7 separate regions of the Homo sapiens genome follow, and regions 2, 3, 4, 5, 6 and 7 are each linked to region 1. Evidence: promoter capture Hi-C in 16 types of primary human blood cells and fetal thymus (Javierre and others, 2016). All regions are on one chromosome and are shown on one strand. The core of a region is centred on a gene start or on the middle of the fragment in contact, and the rest is flanking DNA. Distances in the headings are between cores, read along the strand shown. Region 1 holds the start of CPA4 (carboxypeptidase A4). Region 2 has its middle 9.2 kb from the start of KLF14. Region 3 overlaps LOC105375508 (a long non-coding RNA gene). Region 4 overlaps LOC105375508 (a long non-coding RNA gene). Region 5 overlaps COPG2 (coat protein complex I subunit gamma 2). Region 6 overlaps TSGA13 (testis specific 13). Region 7 has its middle 10 kb from the start of TSGA13.

Region 1 (2,700 bases), core at 201-2,700:
CCAGCCTGAGCAAAGATCCTGCGAAGTCATCCCTCCCACCTTGATATCTGATCAAGTTCCTCATCCCCACCTTTGATGGGGACTTTGATGTATAAGTCCTTGGCCTGCTTTTAGCAAGAATCCCCCTACCTTGATGTCTTCTCTTAGTAATCCCACTGATCCTCTCTGTTTTCTTTGCCGTATTCAGTGTTAAGCACAGTAAGTCTTTCCTACTGAAATAGCCATGGTCCTAATCATAATAATCTTGAATTAGGTCTTACATTTTAACACAGGTCAGGATAGTTTTTCTTTAACTCTCTCAACTATGACCCTTGGTTGTGTCCACTCCCTTTGAGTGGGTGTGGAAAGCATGTAGACCGTAGGGAGGGTGGGATGGGAAAGGCTGTGGGAACTGGGGCTCCCAGGACAGACTCAAAGGTCCCAGAGCCCCTGAAGGCGTTATGGAGATATGAGTGTCTTCCATTTATTCAGCTGTGACTTGGCGGAAAGGACACCAGACCCACAGTCTAGGAAGTATAAGAAAATCTTATTATTTATTTATTTATTTATTTGAGATGGAGTCTCACTCTGTCGCCCAGGCTGGAGTGCAGTGGTGCGATCTCGGCTCACTGCAAGCTCCGCCTCCCAGGTTCACGCCATTCTCCTGAGTAGCTGGGACTACAGGCGTCCGCCACCACGCCCGGCTAATTTTTTGTATTTTTAGTAGAGACGAGGTTTCACTGTGATAGCCAGGATGGTCTCAATCTCCTGACCTCGTGATCCGCCCACCTCGGCCTCCCAAAGTGCTAGGATTACAGGCATGAGCCACCTCGCCCGGCTGAAAATCTTATTATTGATAAAACCATTAAGCCTTCCCCATAGATCAGACCCCAAGGAACACTGATAATTTATTCAGACTAAAACATCCTTTCTATATCATTTGCCTGATACATTTCTATTTCCTTAGTGGAGTCAGAAGAATTAGGCTTCAGATACATAAAAGAGGCCCCAAACCTCTTTCCTCATCCTGACCTGCCCTGGTGAAATTCTCTGGCAGGGCTTGTCAAGCATGTGGTCTTGGAGCCAGCTCAGTCTTGCTTTGATAGTCTTAACTTTTTTATTATTATTCTAGAGGTAATTCTATGCCAGGTTTATAATCTGACCTCTCCTATCAGGATAAATTCCATCCAACACTGTGGAATTAGCTTATTCACTGAAAAAACACTATTTAAATGCCAAGTGATGAGCAATATGGTACCCTTGGCACAGACTTTTTCAGCTCCTGGAGCAAGTTCCTGACCTTGTAAATTGAGATGCTCAACCTTTATCACTTGAAAGGAATGGGAGAGGCATTGGTAGGGCCTGCCTGTCACAGTCAGAGTTGCAAGGGTGCTTGGGAATCACATTAGCATTTTTGAGGACTTGAGTCACTCTCAGACTCTTTATAAATACAGCTTGACTCAGCCACTGTATGACTGACTCCCCGGGGACATGAGGTGGATACTGTTCATTGGGGCCCTTATTGGGTCCAGCATCTGTGGCCAAGAAAAATTTTTTGGGTAAGTTCCTTTTGGACTTATTATTTGGTTATTTCAGAAATATGGGAGCCAAATGGAACTGAAAATGAATGGCTGATAATAGCTCACATGGAGGAAGAAGACCTGGGCTCTTGTTCCAGCTTTGCCCCTGTGTCATCCTGGACAAGTCCACTCTCTTCTCTGAGACCCCATTTCATCTGTGAAATCAGGACTAGATGATCATTGCAGTCTCTCCCCAGCTCCCTCATCTCCTGCCAGTTCTTTTTCTGCCTAGTTCTTACTTATAAGGTCAGTTCCAGGCATCTACTTTCTTACTCCTACCTTATTAATTACTAAGAGTTACTGGTTACTAAGAGCTACGTTATTAATTACTAAGAGTTACTGGTTACCAGAAATGGTTTGTTTCCAATTTCCGCCATGCATAAAGGGAAACCCTGGGTCTCAAGCTTGTTGGTTTCACTTCTTTGTTAATGGCGAAGGCTTTGCAGAGCTGGTGCCTTCTCTTGATCTGCAGTTTAATGCTCTACCCCTGAGCTACACCCTCTTCTGAGCTGGTGCTTTCTTACTGGCTTCTGGGACGTGGAGATTTCACAGGTCTTGCCTAGACACAGCTATGAAAATGACATGCAGAGACACATGCCTGAACACCGTGTGTGTGTGCGCGTGTGTGTGTGCACACACACACGTGCTCAACACGCTCCATGCAGAATACTTTGAGGTTTGCAGGGGAGAGGACATTTGGGTGGTAGGAGAGATAAAAGGGATACCATGGTGCCCTGTTAGAAGACTGAATTATAATAACTCATTACTGCATAATACTTTACCATTTGCAAAGAGCTTTCATGTACATTATCTTTTTGATCACACAACAACTTTGCCAGGCAGGGGTGTTATTTTCTTCCACTTAAACATGAAAAAAATCAGCCTTAGAATGTTAAGGAACGCGCTCAAGGCCACTTAGCTGGGAAGCAGGGGAGCTGGAACTCTGAACGTAAAACTCGTACCCTTTTGCTATAACACAAGTTCATCTCCAAATAAAATCCTATATCTCTTGGATCTGTCTCTTAGTTTTCTTTCTATTTTACTATCTGGCTAATGAGACTTTGGGGTTGTTTTTTGAGGTAATTACTTATATGAGATTGACTAAGTTTTATGATGATGACTTCTGTTCACACCTGTGTCT
Region 2 (2,700 bases), core at 91-2,590, 430 kb after region 1:
TTCACCTGTCATTAACAGGAGTGGGAGCTTCCTAATAAGACACAAGCAGCAATAGATAATAAAAAATGCTACATTTTTTTCTTTCAAGTTGAATCGTAAATGTTTGTATGTTTTGACCATTTTGCTTTTCTTGCCCTTTACTAAACTAGAATATTTTGACAGGTGAACTAGGATTCTGGGTCAAGCTCTGGATTATCAAGAGCTATTGCGGAAAAATAAGAGACAAAGAGTATTCCGGAGTGGAGTGTGTGAGATTTTCCTTTGAGAATTCAGATTGGGCTCATTTCCTGTGTGGTTTGTGTTGACACTCCCCTAACTCTATCCCTCCAATGAGCTTAAGAAAATGGGAGTGAGTCTCTGAATTCCTAGTGAGGGATGAGGGGCAAAAGAAACTCCCTGTCCAGGTCCTAGAATAGGCATGAGAGGGCCTGAGCTGACACTCCTATACACGGGCACAAAGGTTCTTATCGATTTGGATTCTTGGTGTACTATGATTTTTCTCAATATAAAATTATCTACCTTTGCTGCACTCAAGTTTTGGGCTTGGAATTGTATTTTGACTCTGATATTAATTTTGTCACACCTTCTTGCTTTTATTAACACTTAACATTTGTTTGGTATATCATTTCCAAACCTAGGATTTTCTTTTTTCTTTCTTTCTTTTTTTTTTTTGACAGGATCTCACTCTGCTGCCCAGGGTGGAATACAGTGATGTAATCACATCTCACTGCAGCCTCAACCTCCTGGGCTCAAGCAATCCTCTCACCTCAGCCTCCTGCATAGCTGGGACTATAGGCATGCACCACCATGTCCAGCTAATTTTTTTTTTTTTTTTTTGTAGAGACAAGGGCTTGCTATGTTACCCAGGCTGGTCTTGAGCTTTTGTCTCAAGCGATTCTCTCACCTTGGCCTCCCAAATTGCTGGGACTGTAAGTGTGAGTCATTGCACCTGGCCTGCTTTTGCTTTTTTAACCAACATTATTTTGTTTCTGGCCTTTAAAATACTTTAAAAGGTCAATCTTGTTAACTTATACAAGCAATACATGAAGGTATTCTGCTTTTTAAAAAAAGTCAAAGTAGGCTGGGCGCAGAGGCTAATGCCTGTAATTCACCACTTCCGAAGGCTGAGGCAGGAGAATCGCTTGAAGCCAAGAGTTCGAGACCAGCCTAGGCAACAAAGCAAGACCCCGCCCTCATTTCTACCAAAAAAAGTAATAAAAGAAAGAATAAAAGCATTATATATAAGGCTAGAGAGCCCCTAACCAACACTTTCAATCCTTGTCTTCTCTTTAATTGCCTATTACTATACTTTGACAACTTTTTTGGTTCTTGTCTCTTGAATTTTTGATCCTTTATATATTCCAGACATTGATCTTATGCCTGATATTTTTCTCAGAATGTAGCTTGATATTTAATTGTGTTTAGGCTTTTAAAAGTAAAACATTTAAAAGTTTTGATGCAGTCAAATCTTTTTCCTTCAATTTTTATTTTTAAATTTTTTGTGTCCTAAACAAGATGATCTTCCTTATTTAATGATGATAGAGGGATTTTCCAGCATTTTTTACCAATTTTTTTATAGCTTAAACATGTTTAGGTCTTTACCATCTGTAATTTATTATTATGAAAGGTTTGAGAAAGTAATGCTGTGTATTGTTTTGTTTTCTTCATGAAGAGGCAATTGTCTCAATAGCATGTATCAAGTAGCCTATCTTTTCCCTGATTACATGAATGCCAACTCTCTTGTCCACTGGACTGTATTTACAGGTTTATTTCTGAACTCTTTATCCAATTCCACTTATCTCCTGTCTATTCCTACATTATACCACACTGCCTTAATTACTGTAACTTTGTCATATTTTGATATCTGGTAAAGCAATTTTCCCTTCCTTTCCCTTATGTTCTTCTGTAATATTTCCTTTAAAAAGCTCGATGAAAAATCATTGTGGGGTTTTGAATGGAACTGCATTACCTATACAGATTAATTTGAGGACAGAACTGACATTTTTATAGTATTGAATTTTACCATCCACAGACATTATTTTTATCCACTTAGTCCTCTTTTCTTTTCTTTCCTTTTCTTTTTTTCTTTCTTTCTCTTTCTCTCTCTCTCCCCCCCTCCCTCCCTTCCTCCCTCTTTCTCTCTCTCTCTCTTTTTTTGACGGAGTTTCGCTCTTGTTGCCCAGGCTGGAGTGCAATGGCGTGATCTCAGCTCACCACAACCTTCGCCTCCTGGGTTCAAGCGATTCTCCTGCCTCAGCCTCCTGAGTAGCTGGGATTACAGGCGTGCACCACCACACCTGGCTAATTTTGTATTTTCAGTAGAGATGGGGTTTCTCCAATTTGGTCAGGCTGGTCTCAAAAGTCCTATTTTCTTTTATGTCATTCAGTAAAAGTTTTATAGTCTTCTTCATAGATGTTCTTTATATTATTTGTTGCTACCAAATATGGAATCACTTAGTCTATTACATTTTCTGATTGATGATTACTGGCACATAAAAAAGTAATTGATTTTCTTCTTTATTAAATTAATGTAGTGAATTATGTTTATAGATATTGTTGAATTAATCTTGCATTCCTCAGATAAACTTCACACGATTATCTTGCATTATTCTTGTCATGCATTGCTGAATTTTACTTAGGATTTGTGGACCTGTCTTTATAGATAAAATTGGCGTATTTTTTTTTCTTGTCTTTTAACTT
Region 3 (2,700 bases), core at 54-2,553, 470 kb after region 1:
GTGCCTGTGTCTTTATCGTAGAATGATTTATAATCCTTTGGGTATATGCCCAGTAATGGGATTGCTGGGTCAAATGGTATTTCTAGTTCTAGATCCTTGAGGACTCGCCACACTGTTTTCCACAATGGTTGAACTAATTTACACTCCCACCGACAGTGTAAAAGCGTTCCTATTTCTCCACATCCTCTCCAGCACCTGTTGTTTCCTGACTTTTTAATGATTGCCATTCTAACTGGTGTGAAATGGTTTCTCACTGTGGTTTTGATTTGCATTTCTCTAATGGCCAGTGATGATGAGCATTTTTTCATATGTCTGTTGGCTGCATAAATGTCTTCTTTTCATAAGTATCTGTTCATATCCTTTGCCCATTTTTTGATGGGGTTGTTTTTTCCTGGTAAATTTGGTTAAGTTCTTTGTAGATTCTGGATATTAGCCCTTTGTCAGATGGATAGATTGCACAAATTTTCTCCCATCCTGTAGGTTGTCTGTTCACTCTGATGATAGGTTCCTTTGCTATGCAGAAGCTCTTTAGTTTAATTAGATCCTGTTTGTCAATTTTGTCTTTTGTTGCCATTGCTTTTGGTGTTTTGGACGTTAAGTCTTTGCCCATGCCTATGTCCTGATGGTATTGCCCAGGTTTTCTTCTAAGATTGTTATGGTCCTGGGTCTTATGTCTAAGTCTTTGATCCATCTTGAGTTGATTTTTGTAGAAGGGGTAAGGGCATTTCCGTTTTCTGCATATGGCTAGCCAGTTTTCCCAACACCATTTGTTAAATAGGAAATCTTTTTCCCCATTGCTTGTGTGTGTCAGGTTTGTCAAAGATCAGATGGTTGTAGCTGTGTGGCATTGTTTCTGAGGCCTCCGTTCTGTTCTGTTGGTCTATATATCTGTTTTAGTACCAGTACCATGCTGTTTTGGTTACTATGGCCTTGTAGTATAGTTTGAAGTCAGGTAGTGTGATGCCTTGAGCTTTGTTCTTCTTCCCCAATATTGTCTTGGCTATGTGGGCTCCTGTTTGGTTCCATATGAAGTTTAAAGTAGTTTTTTTTTCAATTCTGTGAAGAAATTCAGTGGTAGCTTGATGGGGATAGCATTGAATCTATAAATTACTTTGGGCAGTATGGCCATTTTCACAATACTGATTCTGCCTCTCCATGAGCGTGGAATGTTTATCTATTTGTTTGTGTCCTCTTTTATTTCCTTGAGCAGTGGTTTGTAGTTATCCTTGAAGAGTTCCTTCACACCCGTTGTAAGTTGGATTCCAAGGTATTTTATTCTCTTAGTAGCAATTGTGGATGCGAGTTCACTCATGATTTGGCTCTCTGTTATTGGTGTATAGGAATGTTTGTGATTTTTGCACAGTGGTTTTGTATCCTGAGACTTTGCTGAAGTTGCTTATCATCTTAAGGAGATTTTGGCTGAGACGATGGGGTTTTCTAAGTATACAATCATGTCATCTGCAAACAGACAATTTGATTTCCTATTTTCCTAATTGAATACCCTTTATTTCTTTCTCTTGCCTGATTGTCCTGGCCAGAACTTCCAACACCATGTTGAATAGGAGTGGTGAGAGAGGCATCCTTGTCTTGTGCCAGTTTTCAAAGGGAGTGCTTCCAGGTTTTGCCCATTCAGTATGATTTGGCTGTGGGTTTGTCATAAATAACTCCTATTATTTTGAGATATGTTCCATCAATACCTAGTCTGAGAATTTTTAGCATGAAGGGCTGCTGAATTTTGGCAAAGGCCTTTTCTGCGTCTATTGAGATAATCGTGTTTTTTGTCATTGGTTCTGTTTATGTGATGGATTACATTTATTGATTTGCATATGTTGAACCAGCCTTGCATCCCAGGGATGAAGCCAAGTTGATCGTGGTGGATAAGCATTTTGATGTGCTGCTGGATTCAGTTTACCAGTATTTTATTGAGGATTTTTGCGTTGATATTCATAAGGGATATTGGCCTAAAGTTCTCTTTTTTTGTTGTGTCTCTGCCGTGCTTTGGTATCAGGATGATCCTGGCCTCATGAAATGAGTTAGGGAGATTCCCTCTTTTTCTATTGACTGGAATCGTTTCAGAAGGAATGGAAGCATCTCCTCTTTGTACCTCTGGTAGAATTCAGCTGTGAATCTGTCTGGTCCTGGACTTTTTTTGGTTGGTAGGTTAGTAATTATTGCCTCAATTTCAGAACCTGTTATTGGTCTGTTCAGAGATTCAGCTTCTTCCTGGTTTAGTCTTGGGAGGGTGTATGTGTCCTGTTATTTATCCGTTTCTTCTATATTTTCTAGTTTATTTGCATAGAGGTGAGCTTTATTTATTTAGGTGCTCCAATGTTGGGTGCATATATATTTACAATCATTATATCTTCTTGATTAATTGGCCTTGTAATCATTATATAATGACCTTCTTTGTTTCACTTTATAGTGTCAACTTAAAGTCTGTTTTATCTGATACGAGGTTAGTTACCTCTGTTCTCTTTTGGTTTCCATTTTCATGGATTATCTTTCTCAATATTTTCACTTTCAATCAATGTATGTCCTTAAAAGTGAAGTGAGGCCAGGCATACTGGCTCATGCTTGTAATCGCAGCACTTTGGGAGGCTGAGGTGAGCAGATAACTTGAGGTCAGGAGTTCCAGACCAGCCTGGGCAACATAGTGAAACCCTGTCTCTACTAACAAAAAACCAAAAAAAAAAAAAAATT
Region 4 (2,700 bases), core at 142-2,641, 450 kb after region 1:
GAGGGTAGAAAATTCAAAACCCTAAAAAGCTATATGCTGTTTATCTAAAACAAATGACCCAGGAATTTAAAATTGAACAACAAAAGCAGATGTATTATGAAAATGTTAACAAAGCAAACCAAATTAACATTTCAAGTAGAAAAAAAATAAGGATAAAGAAGATTCTAATAACATTATGAGAAACTTTATATACTCAGTTTAAATGTACGTGGAATATTTACAAAGAAAATTTCAATAGATTCTATAAAGTAGAAATTATACAACCTACACAGTGACCACATGCATAAAATTATTATTTAACAACAAGAAGACAGTAAAAAACAACAAACAGAAAAAGCACTATCCTCTTGAAAATGAGAAGGCACACTTCTAATTAACTTGGATTACAAAAGAATTAAAATTGAAATTACAAACTACTTAGAAATGAACAAATGAGCACACTACATTCCAAGATTTGTGCGTACTGCCAAAGTGGTACAAATGGAAAGATTTGCAGCCTTGAGTGCTTGTAGAAAACAGAAATTGTGAAAATAAACAAGCTAAGCTTATGACTCAAGAGTTAAAGAACAGGAAAAATAAGCCCAAAGAAATAAAAGTAGAAATAAATTGGCCGGGCATGGTGGCTCATGCCTGTAATCCCAGCACTTTGGGAGGCTGAGGGAGGAGGATCACCTGAGGTCAGGAGTTTGAGACCAGCTTGGCCAACATGGTGAAACCCTGTCTCTACTAAAAATACAAAAATTAGCGAGGTGTGGTGGCAGGCGCCTGTAATCCCTGCTAGGGAGGCTGAGGCAGGAGAATCGCTTAAACCTGGGAGGCAGAGATTGCAGTGAGCCAAGACCATGTCATTGCACTCCAGCCTGGGCAACAAGTGCGAAATTCCATCTCAAAAAAACAAAATAAGAATAGTAGAAATAAATGAAATTTTAAAAACCCCAAGTGGGCTTCATTAATAAAACCATTTTCTATTTATTTGGCAAGACCAATAAAATAGATGAATGCTTGGTGAATCAGATTAAGAAAAAAAAGAAGATATGCTTAATATAAGGATCAAGAAATGTGGAAAAAGCCAAATATTACTATGTACAACTTTAAATAAATATAATTAAAATCAAGATAAAATGTTTGATCCATAAATGCACAAATTACCAAAGTTGGTTCAGTAAGGAGCAAAGCTCCATGGACCATTACATAAAAATAAATGGAAAAATAATTAAAGGTATACTTAAAACAAAACAAAACACCAGATCCAAGTAGTTTCGCCAACTGGAGCTACCAAAGCTAAAAACAGGTATTTCCCATGTTATATAGTGGTCATAGTCCATAAAACAGATTGAACAATTTTTCAATTCGTAAGAGGTTTTTTTTTAATACCCTAGTTCTGAAATCAGATAAAGATAGGATCCAAAAAAAAGAGACTAATTCTCACAAACATAGTACAAAATTTCTAAATCTAGAAGTGTATTTTAAAAATAGTGCATCATGCCCAAGTTGAGTTTTTTCCAGGAGAAGAAGGGTATTTGGATGGTGAAAGTGTATTAATAGAATTCATTGTATTCTCTGAAGAGAAAATATATAATAGGCACCCCAAAAAGCAGTTGATAAGATCTAGCACACATTCCTCGTTTTAAAAAATGATCTTAGTAAAGAAGTCATAGAAGAAAGCATCTTATATTTGAAAAGGGGTTTCCAGTGGAAATCTACAACAAACATAATGCTTAACCATGAAATACTTGAAACATTCCCATTAAAATTAGGAACAATACAAGGGTAGCCTTTACTAGTACCACTTAGCATTAAAGTAGACATCCCATTCAGTACAACAATGGGGAAAAAGCCAAGAAAGAAGGTGAATACATATTGGAAAGTAATATACAAAACTGTAACTTTTTGCAGATGCACATTTCCATGTACCTAGAAAAATCCAAGGAAAATGTCAGAAAAACTTGAGAGCTAGTAAGATTTTGGTAGGGTGACTCTATAAAGATCTTGGTGAAGAAAAGTATACAGCTGAATTAAAGTTCTCATATAAAGATCTGAATACATGGAGAAACACACTGTTTCTTAACAGAAAAACTCAATGCTATAAAAGACAATTATTACAAAACATTTATAAATTTAAGACTGTTTCATTCAACATAGCAGCAGGTTTCTGTATAAAATTTGGCAAAATAATTCATCCGGATGAGAAAAAAATAGGAGGAGTAACATTTTTCTAGCAGGTATTAAAGCATATCATAAAGCTTTAGTAATTGATTCAGTGTGGTATTGTCATAGAAATAGACCAGTAAATTGATGGAAGAAAGAGGTGATTTAGAAACAGCCATTTATATGTGAGAGTTCAGTATATGATAAAGGTGACATTTCAAAAGAGTGGGGGAAATGATAGACAATTTATTAAAGAGTGTTCAACAGTTACTTAATCATTTTGGGGAAAATAAAAATCACTCCCACAGCCGGGCATGGTGGCTTACGCCTGTAATCCCAGGACTTTGAGAGGCCGAGGCGGGTGGATCACGAGGTCAGGAGATTGAAACCATCCTAGCTAACACAGTGAAACCCCGTCTCTACTAAAAATACAAAAAAATTAGCCGGGCGTGGTGGCGGGTGCCTGTAGTCCCAGCTACTCAGGAGGCTGAGGCAGGAGAATGGTGTGAACCCGGGAGGTGGAGCTTGCAGTGAGCCAAGATTGTGCCACTG
Region 5 (2,700 bases), core at 101-2,600, 330 kb after region 1:
TATGTGCTAAGACTACTGCGTAGAAGACTGTTCTAATTCAAGAATAAAGCAATGAGCAAAATTAGTAAAAAGCAAAAAGTCCTTTGCCTTCATGGAACTTATCATTCTGGGAGGAAGAAAGATAATCACGTAAACAAAACAACCCCTTCCCCATAATTTTAGATACTGATAATTAGCATAAAAGATAAACTAAGGACAATGGTATAAAGCGTCCTAGTCTGACATACCCCCAAATCCTAAAATCCCATCAGACTAGACATAACTTTTAAAAATAAATTAACAAAAATAATTAACTCAAGAGGTATCTCTCTTTGGCATGGCTTTCTAAAATTATCAATGGCTTCAGACCTTTCTGCTGAGCTTCAAAAACAGGCAGAGGTGTGAACTAGCTACAAAATTCCATGTCCATGCTTTAAAGAGGTTTTTAACCTTTTACCCTCCCTTCTTTAGCTCCCCATGCATTTATACTACTGCTATCAATCTCTCCACTTCCTCAACTCCTCTCACATAATCCAAAATGGTCTACAACTCTGACTCCCTCCATTAGGAAACCAAGAGGAAGAAGTTTTGACTGATAGTCCTTCATTTCTTTTTCAATTAGGAAAGCAATTTGGCCAGGTGTGGTGGCTCATGTCTGTAATCCCAGCACTTTGGGAGGTCAAGGTGGGAGGATTACTTGAGCTCAGGAGTGCAAGACCAGCCTGGGAAACATGACTAAACCCCATCTCTACAGATAATACAAAAATTAGACTGGTGTTGTGGGGTGTGCCTGTAGTCTCAGCTACTTGGGAGGTTGAGGTGGGAGGACTGCTTGAACCCAGGAGGCAGAGGTTGCAGTGAGCTGAGATGGCACCACTGTACTCCAACCTGGGTGACAGAGTGAGACCCTGTCTCAAAAAAAAAAAAAAAAAAAGACTTTTTTTGGAAGTGTCCTGCACTTAAAAAATTTTGTAGCGTGGGCATTTTTCCCTGATGCACTCTTTCTGGCTCTGTCAGATGCAAGCTTGGTTTTCCGGATTTCCAAGAGGATCTATGAACTAGATTCTACTGCCAGCAATGGGGAGCCCTGAACAATACACTCGTTCAGTAATTTAAGTGCCAAGGACTATGAATTTTCCTCTGACCATAGCTTTAGTTGAACTCATAGGTTTTCATCATTAGATTTTAAAAATATTCTGTAATTTCAATTTTTACTTATATACTGTCCCAAAAGTTGAGGTTTTCTTTTTATTTTTCCATTTTGACATATCTGGGTACTATCTGTTCATTTTCTTCTCAAAATAAATGTATCATTTGATTGCATTGTAATGACAGAATAAGTCTCTACTATATTTCCACATTCTAGAATTAACAGGTTTTCAGGGGCTGAATGCTGAATAATTTGTAAGTGTTCCATGAATACTTATAAAGGTGACTTTTCTATTATAAAGGTAAGGTTTTCATAAGTATTAATCAATCTGTATCAAGTATATTATTCATATCTTTTTTACCCTTAGGTTTTTCCTTCTTTTTAAAACAAAGGCTGATACTATTTTGTTTCTATTTACATTTTTTGTGATTTTTGGCTTATGTACTTTGGTGTTACATTAATAAATAATTCATGACAGTTCCTCCTCATTTTGGATAAAGTACCTCATTCTTGTCTCCTTCAAAACTTTTTGCATTTAATTCAATTTTCTAATTATTAATACCTTCACCCAAGCTTCCTTTCAGTAGTGTTTGCCTTATATGCTTTCACCCCTCCTTTTATATTCAAATTTTGCTTTGCCTTGTTTTATATACATCACAATATGTAGCATATAGTTAGCTGTATTTTATTTTTAAACTAATCTGTATTTCTTTTAATAGGCAATGTCTGGTGTTAATTCTATGAATTTGTTTTGTGTTACATCTCTATTTTTAGTACTTTCTTTGTTTCCTATAAGGCAGTGTTATCCAACAGAACTTTTTTCAATGATGGAAAATGTTCCATCATTCAGCATAGTAGCCACAAGCTAAATGTGTCTAATGAGCACTTGAAATATAGCTAGTGTGACTAATGAACTGAATTTTCAATTTTACAAAAGTTCAATTAATGTTCACTATAATAGCCATATGTATCTAATGGCTATCTTATTGGACAATACAGATGTAAGAGTGTCTTTTGTTTTCCTAAGTGAATGTGTTTTCTCTCTGAAATATGGGAGATTTACATTCTAGTTCTTTTTGTCGCTGCCATAAAACTTTAGATAAAAGAGTTAAGCTATGAAAGCAAAAAAATTAATGCACGTAAGCTTTCTCCTCTCTCATCTGCCCTCCCGTGTATCTCCAAATTTTTGTTAGTATTATTCTTTTTGTATTATCATGGATTATAACATTTACATTCTATCTTTAATCATAATTTCTACAGTAGTTTAACCCTACTTCTATAATTGAATACATTCAATGCTCACTGGTAATTCATTTCCTGTAGCCCCTCTATTACAGAATTCACTCTTTTGATTTAATATAACTTCAATGCTTAATTTTATTTTTCAAGAAAAGCTCACAGGTGTTATGGTCCCTGAATTCTTTCCAGTGTGGAAGTCTGCTTGTTGTCCCTGTACTTGAATGACAATTCGCTTAGCTGTATTATTCTTGTATCACATGTTCTGTTTCTTAAAACTTTGCAGATACTGTCCCCATTCTTTTCTGACACTGAAAACTGCCATGAATGGCTGA
Region 6 (2,700 bases), core at 48-2,547, 380 kb after region 1:
TGGCCTCTTCACTACCTTTCTTCCTCATGGTTTGAGTCTTTTTTTGGGGGGGGTGGGGTGGGGAGGGGATGGAATCTCACTCTGTTGCCTGGGCTGGACTGCAGTGGCACAGTCTCCACTCACTGCAACCTCCACCTCCCAAGTTCAAGCAATTCTCCTGTGTTAGCCTCCGGAGTAGCTAGGACTACAGGCATGTGCCACCACGCCTGGCTAATTTTTTGTATTTTTAGTAGAGACAGGGTTTCACCACGTTAGCCAGGATGGTCTCAATCTCCTGACCTCGTGATCTGCCTGCCTCGGCCTCCCAAAGTGCTGGGCTTACAGGCGTGAGCCACTGCGCCAGGCCGGTTTGAGTCTTCTAGCCTTACTCTTATGTGTCCTTTTAGCTTTCATTCCTACTGCTTCAATCTTTTCATTTCTCAATTCAGAGACCTGGAAACAAGAATCTGATTAGCTCAGGGATTCTGGATGTTGGTAGGTTGGTTGGTTTTTGTTTTGATTTGTTTTTTGTTTGTTTTGGTTTTAGGGTACCAATCCACATCACAGGTCACTACCCAGCCTATGAATTTTGCTTTGTTGGGTCTGATATCCTCCTCTGGTCTCAACTAGGAGTGGGGACACGGTCCTGTTGTACAAAATAGAACTTCTCAGGATATTCCCTTACTCAGGAGACTGTGGTAGGGTCAGTTTCACTTAGAAGGGGCTGTTAGTATGACAATCACTGTAATAGATATATCTAGTACATTCCATAACTTGCCTACTAGAACTCACAGTCTTTTTGGATGCATGCCTGGGCATAACAAAGAATGCTTTTCTTGTAAATGATTCTAGGTTTACAAAAGATTATCACATTTGTCCAGCAAGGGAAGGAAAGGATGCTGCATGAATATTAAAGAGGCATTGTAGATATCACACGTTTCAATCTTCTTGGGCTTGTTCCAGTCTGATAGCCCCATAAAATTACCATGGTGCCAGTCTTTGAGCCTTAACTTTATCCATTAGTACAATTTAACTGGTACCACAATTTGCTCATCAATATGATTAGATTCTGCACCTGAACTGGAGGGTTCACAAAGTGTGCAGGCTGTTGGAAGAAAGCTCTTCCCACACCCAGTTTACATGATAGCTTTGTATTTCCTTCTGCGCATTAAGCAGGGCAATCCTGGCCTGGCATTTATCCCTTTCTCAATGTATGGTCCACCCACTGCCATGAGAAACTACCAGTGAGCTTACCTTCAAAGGGCACAAATTCTGAGACCCAAGAGACCACATGCGGTAAATTCATTAACTCCTTTGTTAGTACATGCCATTGGATATTAGCATTTTATCTTCCACTTGAAGGAGAATCTCTCACTGTCATCCATCTAGGAACTATGGAAACACTAACTCCAAATTCACCACATTTTATTATAAGGGTCTCACTTGGGTAATCCCATGCCCAGCATAAAATTTCTACTAGAATCCTTTGTTTGCACTTTCACTTAACTCATTTATTTAATTTGTTCTTGTTAGATTAGACCCGCTCTTGAGGCTATCATGACCTTTTTTAGATTTTGATTCTTTTTTTTTTTTTTGAGACTGAGTCTCCCTCTGTCGCCCAGGCTGGAGTGCAGTGGTGCGATCTCGGCTCACTGCGAGCTCCGCCTCCCACGTTCACTCCATTTTCCTGCCTCAGCCTCCGGAGTAGCTGGGAGTACAGGCGCCCGCTACCACGCCCGGCTAATTTTTTGTATTTTTAGTAGAGACGGGGTTTCACTGGGTTAGCCAGGATGGTCTCAATCTCCTGACCTCGTGATCCACCTGCCTTGGCCTCCCAAAGTGCTGGGATTACAGGCGTGAGCCACTGCTCCCGGCCAGATTTTGATTCTTAAATATCTCATAATTAAATTTTCTCTACTTCCTCTGCTAATGATTTAGTTCAGGTCTTCAGTATCTCTCACCTTGACTATTTTAGTAACATTATAACTCATCTTTCTGGGTTTTGTCTCTTCCACAACTACTAATGCACCTTTCTTCAACCTCCAAAACAGTCTTCCTAAAATGCAAATTTGATTACATCCTTTTGTCTCCTGCCATTTACTCTATTTGCTTTTTCTTTTTTTTTTTGAGATAGAGTCTCGCCCTGTCGCCCATGCTGGAATGCAGTAGCGCTATCTTGGCTCACTGCAACCTCCACCTCCCAGGTTCAAGCGATTCTCCTCCCTCAGCCTCCTGAGTAGCTGGGACTACAGGCATGCAGCACCACGCATGGCTAATTTTTGTATTTTTAGGAGAGATGGGGTTTCACCATGTTGGCCAAGCTGGTGTCAAACTCCTTATCTCAAGTGATCTGCCCGCCTCAGCCTCCCAAAGTGCTGGGATTACAGGCGTGAGCCACTGCGCCTGGCCCTGCCATTTACTCTCTTACATCTTCCTGAATGCACCTCATTTTCCCATGTCTTCATGCTTTTGCTCTTTCCTCTGATTTGATATTTTCCTGTTCTTTTGTCATGGGTCACTTCCCTACTCACTCCCTTTTTCCCAACAGAAATACTGTATTCTACATTACTTCTGTATTTTGTATATTCTTCTATTACTTTAACATACCTCATTTATTGATCTTTCTCCTATTAGATTCCAAGTTCCTTTAAGACAGAAACTGTCCTGTAATCATCTTTATATTCTGGTTTTTAGCTTACTGTATCCTCAGCAATTGCTTGT
Region 7 (2,706 bases), core at 171-2,670, 400 kb after region 1:
GACACAAGGTAGACAGTCAGCAAATATCTGCTGATTGAATGAGTGATTGAAAACTCAGCTGAAAGGTTCCATGTACACTATGTGAGATTTTTGGTTTTGATTTATCAGTTCTGGTCATTGTTGGTGGTACTTGATAGCCATCCCAAATTTTCTTACTTGTTATCCTGTTCTGAAAGAAGACATACTAGATCCAAGGAAAAATCAGATTGAATCAATATCATTTATATGGTGTATCCACAGCCTCTATGAGGCATTTCCCTACCTACTCACCCTCCGCTCTGTGCTTTCAACGTGGCCCTGACATGTCCATTATTGATGACCCAATCACACTTGTTACCACGATAGCAATGTAACAAAGGCTAGTTGAAGAGAAAGAGGATTCTTCTCGAAACAAAACAAAACAAAAAAAACAGTCCCATCCCAAAGATAGAAAAATCACTTCAGGGAGCCTGCATCTGCTGTGCCTTTGCTTATGGAGTCAGGCTTGCCCAGAAACAGTGGAAGGGCTTTGATCAGCAGTCAAGGCCAACCTATCTTTCAGATGAACAGAAAACGATGACTTGAGAAGGATAGCTTTAGAGATGACAGAAAGCAGACTGGGGATATATCATCAGATGAATGAAGAGAGAATGATAATTGGGGAAGACATGAGATCAGAAACGTTAAAACTAGTCATAGAAGAGAAAAAGATGGGTGTCCCTTTAATTTAAATCTGGACCTAACTGCCTCTACATTTGGGGATGAGGCTAGAAATGGGTTGCGGACATGTTTTTAATGATAGAGGACCTGGGAAAATGCCTGGGTCCCAAGAGATTTAATGGAAGAGGAATGAAATGATATTAGGGAGCAATTTGGAATTATACCCCAAGAGGGAGCCTAGATCCAGGAAATTATTGAAAGTCGCCCTCTGATGGTGACAGATAGAAAGTCCTTAACAAGAACAATTGGGGGACATTCCTTTGATGATAGGGACAACTCCCCAAGATGGTTACAGAAAACTTAGGTTTAAGAAAAGAAGGCCAGAAACATGACTGGGGAGTACTTTAGGTATTATTTTTTCTTTTTCTTTTTCTTTCTTTCTTTTTCTTTTTTTTTTTGAGATGGAGCCTCACTCTGTCACCCAGGCTGGAGTGCAGTGGTGCAATCTCGGCTCACCTCAACCTCCGTCTCTTGGGTTCAAGTGATTCTCCTGCCTCAGCCTCCTGAGTAGCTGGGACTACAGGTGCATGCCACCCGCCTGACTAATTTTTGTATTTTTAGTAGAGACGAGGTTTCACCATGTTGGCTAGGATGGCCTCGATATCCTGACCTCGTGATCCACCCACCTCGGCCTCCCAAAGTGCTGGGATTACAGGTGTGAGCCACTGAGCCCAGCCCTAGGTATTCTCTTGTGGGTTTCAAGGTGATGTGGTTTTTGTAGGCGGGAAAGCATGACTAGCACATGCCACGAGGGGCACATTCAGGTAATGTACAAGGCTAGGTCTCTAAGGAAATGCAATACACCAACATGGGCCAGACAGAAACACAACAGAATAGGTGTAGGGCATTATAGGCAAACTCTGACCCAGGTCTCCCATTTTCACCTGAAATTAACTTTATAAAAATTGCATTTTGGGCCGGGTGTGGTGGCTCACGCCTGTAATCCCAGCACTTTGGGAGGCCGAGGTGGGTGGATCACTTGAGATCAGGAGTTCGAGACTAGCCTGGTCAACATGGAGAAACCCTGTCTCTACTAAAAATACAAAAATTAGCTGGGTGTGGTGGTGTACACCTGTGATCTCAGCTACTCGGGAGGCTGACGCAGGAAAATTGCTTGAACCTGGGAGGCGGAGATTGCAGTGAGCCGAGATGGCACCATTGCACACCAGCCTGGGCAACAAGAGCGAGACTCCATCTCAAAAAAAAAAAAAATTGCATTTTGAAATTGTAAAGGCAGTTCCTAAAAGAATGTGCAAATATATCCCACAGAAAGTCTTGCTTTCTTGCTTGTTAGTATTGTGAATGTTTTCTTGCCTTTTTTTTTTTTTTTTTTTTGACAGAGTCTTGCACCGTTTCCCAGGCTGGAGTGCAGCGGCACGATCTCACTGCAATCTCCGCCTCCCAGGTTCAAGCGATTGTCTTGACTCAGTCTCCTGAGTAGCTGGGATTACAGGCGCCCGCCACCAGGCCCAGCTAGTTTTTTTGTATTTTTGTAGAGTCGGAGTTTCACTACATTGGCCAGGCTGGTCTCAAACTCCTGATCTCATGATCCACTGCCTGGGCCTCCCAAAGTGCTGGGATTACAGGCATGAGCCACCGCGCCCAGCCTTTCTTGCTTTTAGATACTAATTTTATAGGCTGGGCATGGTGGCTTATGCCTGTATTCCCAGCACTTTAGGAGGCCAAGGTGGGTGGACTACTTAAGGCCAGGAGTTCAAGACCAGCCTGGCCAACATGGTGAAACCCTGTCTCTACTAAAAAAATAAAAACAAAAATAAAAAAATTGGCCAGGCATGGTGGTGCGCGCCTGTAGTCCCAGCTACTTGGGAGGGTGAGGCAGGAGAATTGGTCGAACCTGGGAAGTGGAGGTTGCAGTGAGCCAAGATCACGCCACTACACTCCATCCTGGGTGACATAGTGAGACTCCATCTCAAAAAACAATATGAATTTTATAGACATATATTTCTCAATACAATATTTTTCATCCACTATTTGTCTAAGAAGAGT

Evidence for each region. The method cuts DNA at HindIII sites, captures the fragments that hold promoters and counts their contacts. A CHiCAGO score of 5 or more calls a contact.
Region 2: a contact is called between a fragment that was not itself captured here and the fragment with the promoter of CPA4 in region 1, in 3 of 17 cell types (endothelial precursors, M1 macrophages and M2 macrophages). The highest score is 6.2, in endothelial precursors.
Region 3: a contact is called between a fragment that was not itself captured here and the fragment with the promoter of CPA4 in region 1, in 3 of 17 cell types (M1 macrophages, erythroblasts and M0 macrophages). The highest score is 7.3, in M1 macrophages.
Region 4: a contact is called between a fragment that was not itself captured here and the fragment with the promoter of CPA4 in region 1, in 2 of 17 cell types (endothelial precursors and M1 macrophages). The highest score is 6.4, in endothelial precursors.
Region 5: a contact is called between a fragment that was not itself captured here and the fragment with the promoter of CPA4 in region 1, in 6 of 17 cell types (M2 macrophages, megakaryocytes, erythroblasts and 3 more). The highest score is 7.1, in M2 macrophages.
Region 6: a fragment that was not itself captured here is called in contact with the fragment with the promoter of CPA4 in region 1 in 5 of 17 cell types (M1 macrophages, M2 macrophages, endothelial precursors and 2 more); the score reaches 8.9 in M1 macrophages.
Region 7: a fragment that was not itself captured here is called in contact with the fragment with the promoter of CPA4 in region 1 in 4 of 17 cell types (M2 macrophages, endothelial precursors, M0 macrophages and 1 more); the score reaches 6.8 in M2 macrophages.

What each region holds. Positions count from the first base shown.
Region 1 is chr7:130,291,711-130,294,410 of GRCh38, forward strand. It overlaps CPA4 (carboxypeptidase A4), which reads left to right and starts at 1,451. Exons shown (of 11, transcript NM_016352.4): 1 at 1,451-1,538. The coding sequence starts at 1,471. RefSeq lists an enhancer at 1,856-1,945. The HindIII fragment of the contact is 9,413 bases long and covers 1-1,961 here.
Region 2 is chr7:130,723,649-130,726,348 of GRCh38, forward strand. No RefSeq gene overlaps it. Among named protein-coding and RNA genes, the nearest start is that of KLF14, 9.2 kb to the right of the region's middle. The HindIII fragment of the contact is 4,675 bases long and covers 1-2,700 here.
Region 3 is chr7:130,764,919-130,767,618 of GRCh38, forward strand. All of the region lies in intron 3 of LOC105375508 (a long non-coding RNA gene), which reads left to right. Among named protein-coding and RNA genes, the nearest start is that of KLF14, 32 kb to the left of the region's middle. The HindIII fragment of the contact is 4,409 bases long and covers 1-2,700 here.
Region 4 is chr7:130,745,409-130,748,108 of GRCh38, forward strand. The region is part of intron 3 of LOC105375508 (a long non-coding RNA gene); the gene reads left to right. Among named protein-coding and RNA genes, the nearest start is that of KLF14, 13 kb to the left of the region's middle. The HindIII fragment of the contact is 1,699 bases long and covers 543-2,241 here.
Region 5 is chr7:130,617,207-130,619,906 of GRCh38, forward strand. The region is part of intron 5 of COPG2 (coat protein complex I subunit gamma 2); the gene reads right to left. Among named protein-coding and RNA genes, the nearest start is that of COPG2, 50 kb to the right of the region's middle. The HindIII fragment of the contact is 699 bases long and covers 1,002-1,700 here.
Region 6 is chr7:130,675,337-130,678,036 of GRCh38, forward strand. All of the region lies in intron 5 of TSGA13 (testis specific 13), which reads right to left. Among named protein-coding and RNA genes, the nearest start is that of COPG2, 7.9 kb to the left of the region's middle. RefSeq lists an enhancer at 978-1,534. The HindIII fragment of the contact is 4,053 bases long and covers 1-2,700 here.
Region 7 is chr7:130,695,142-130,697,847 of GRCh38, forward strand. No RefSeq gene overlaps it. Among named protein-coding and RNA genes, the nearest start is that of TSGA13, 10 kb to the left of the region's middle. The HindIII fragment of the contact is 5,965 bases long and covers 1-2,706 here.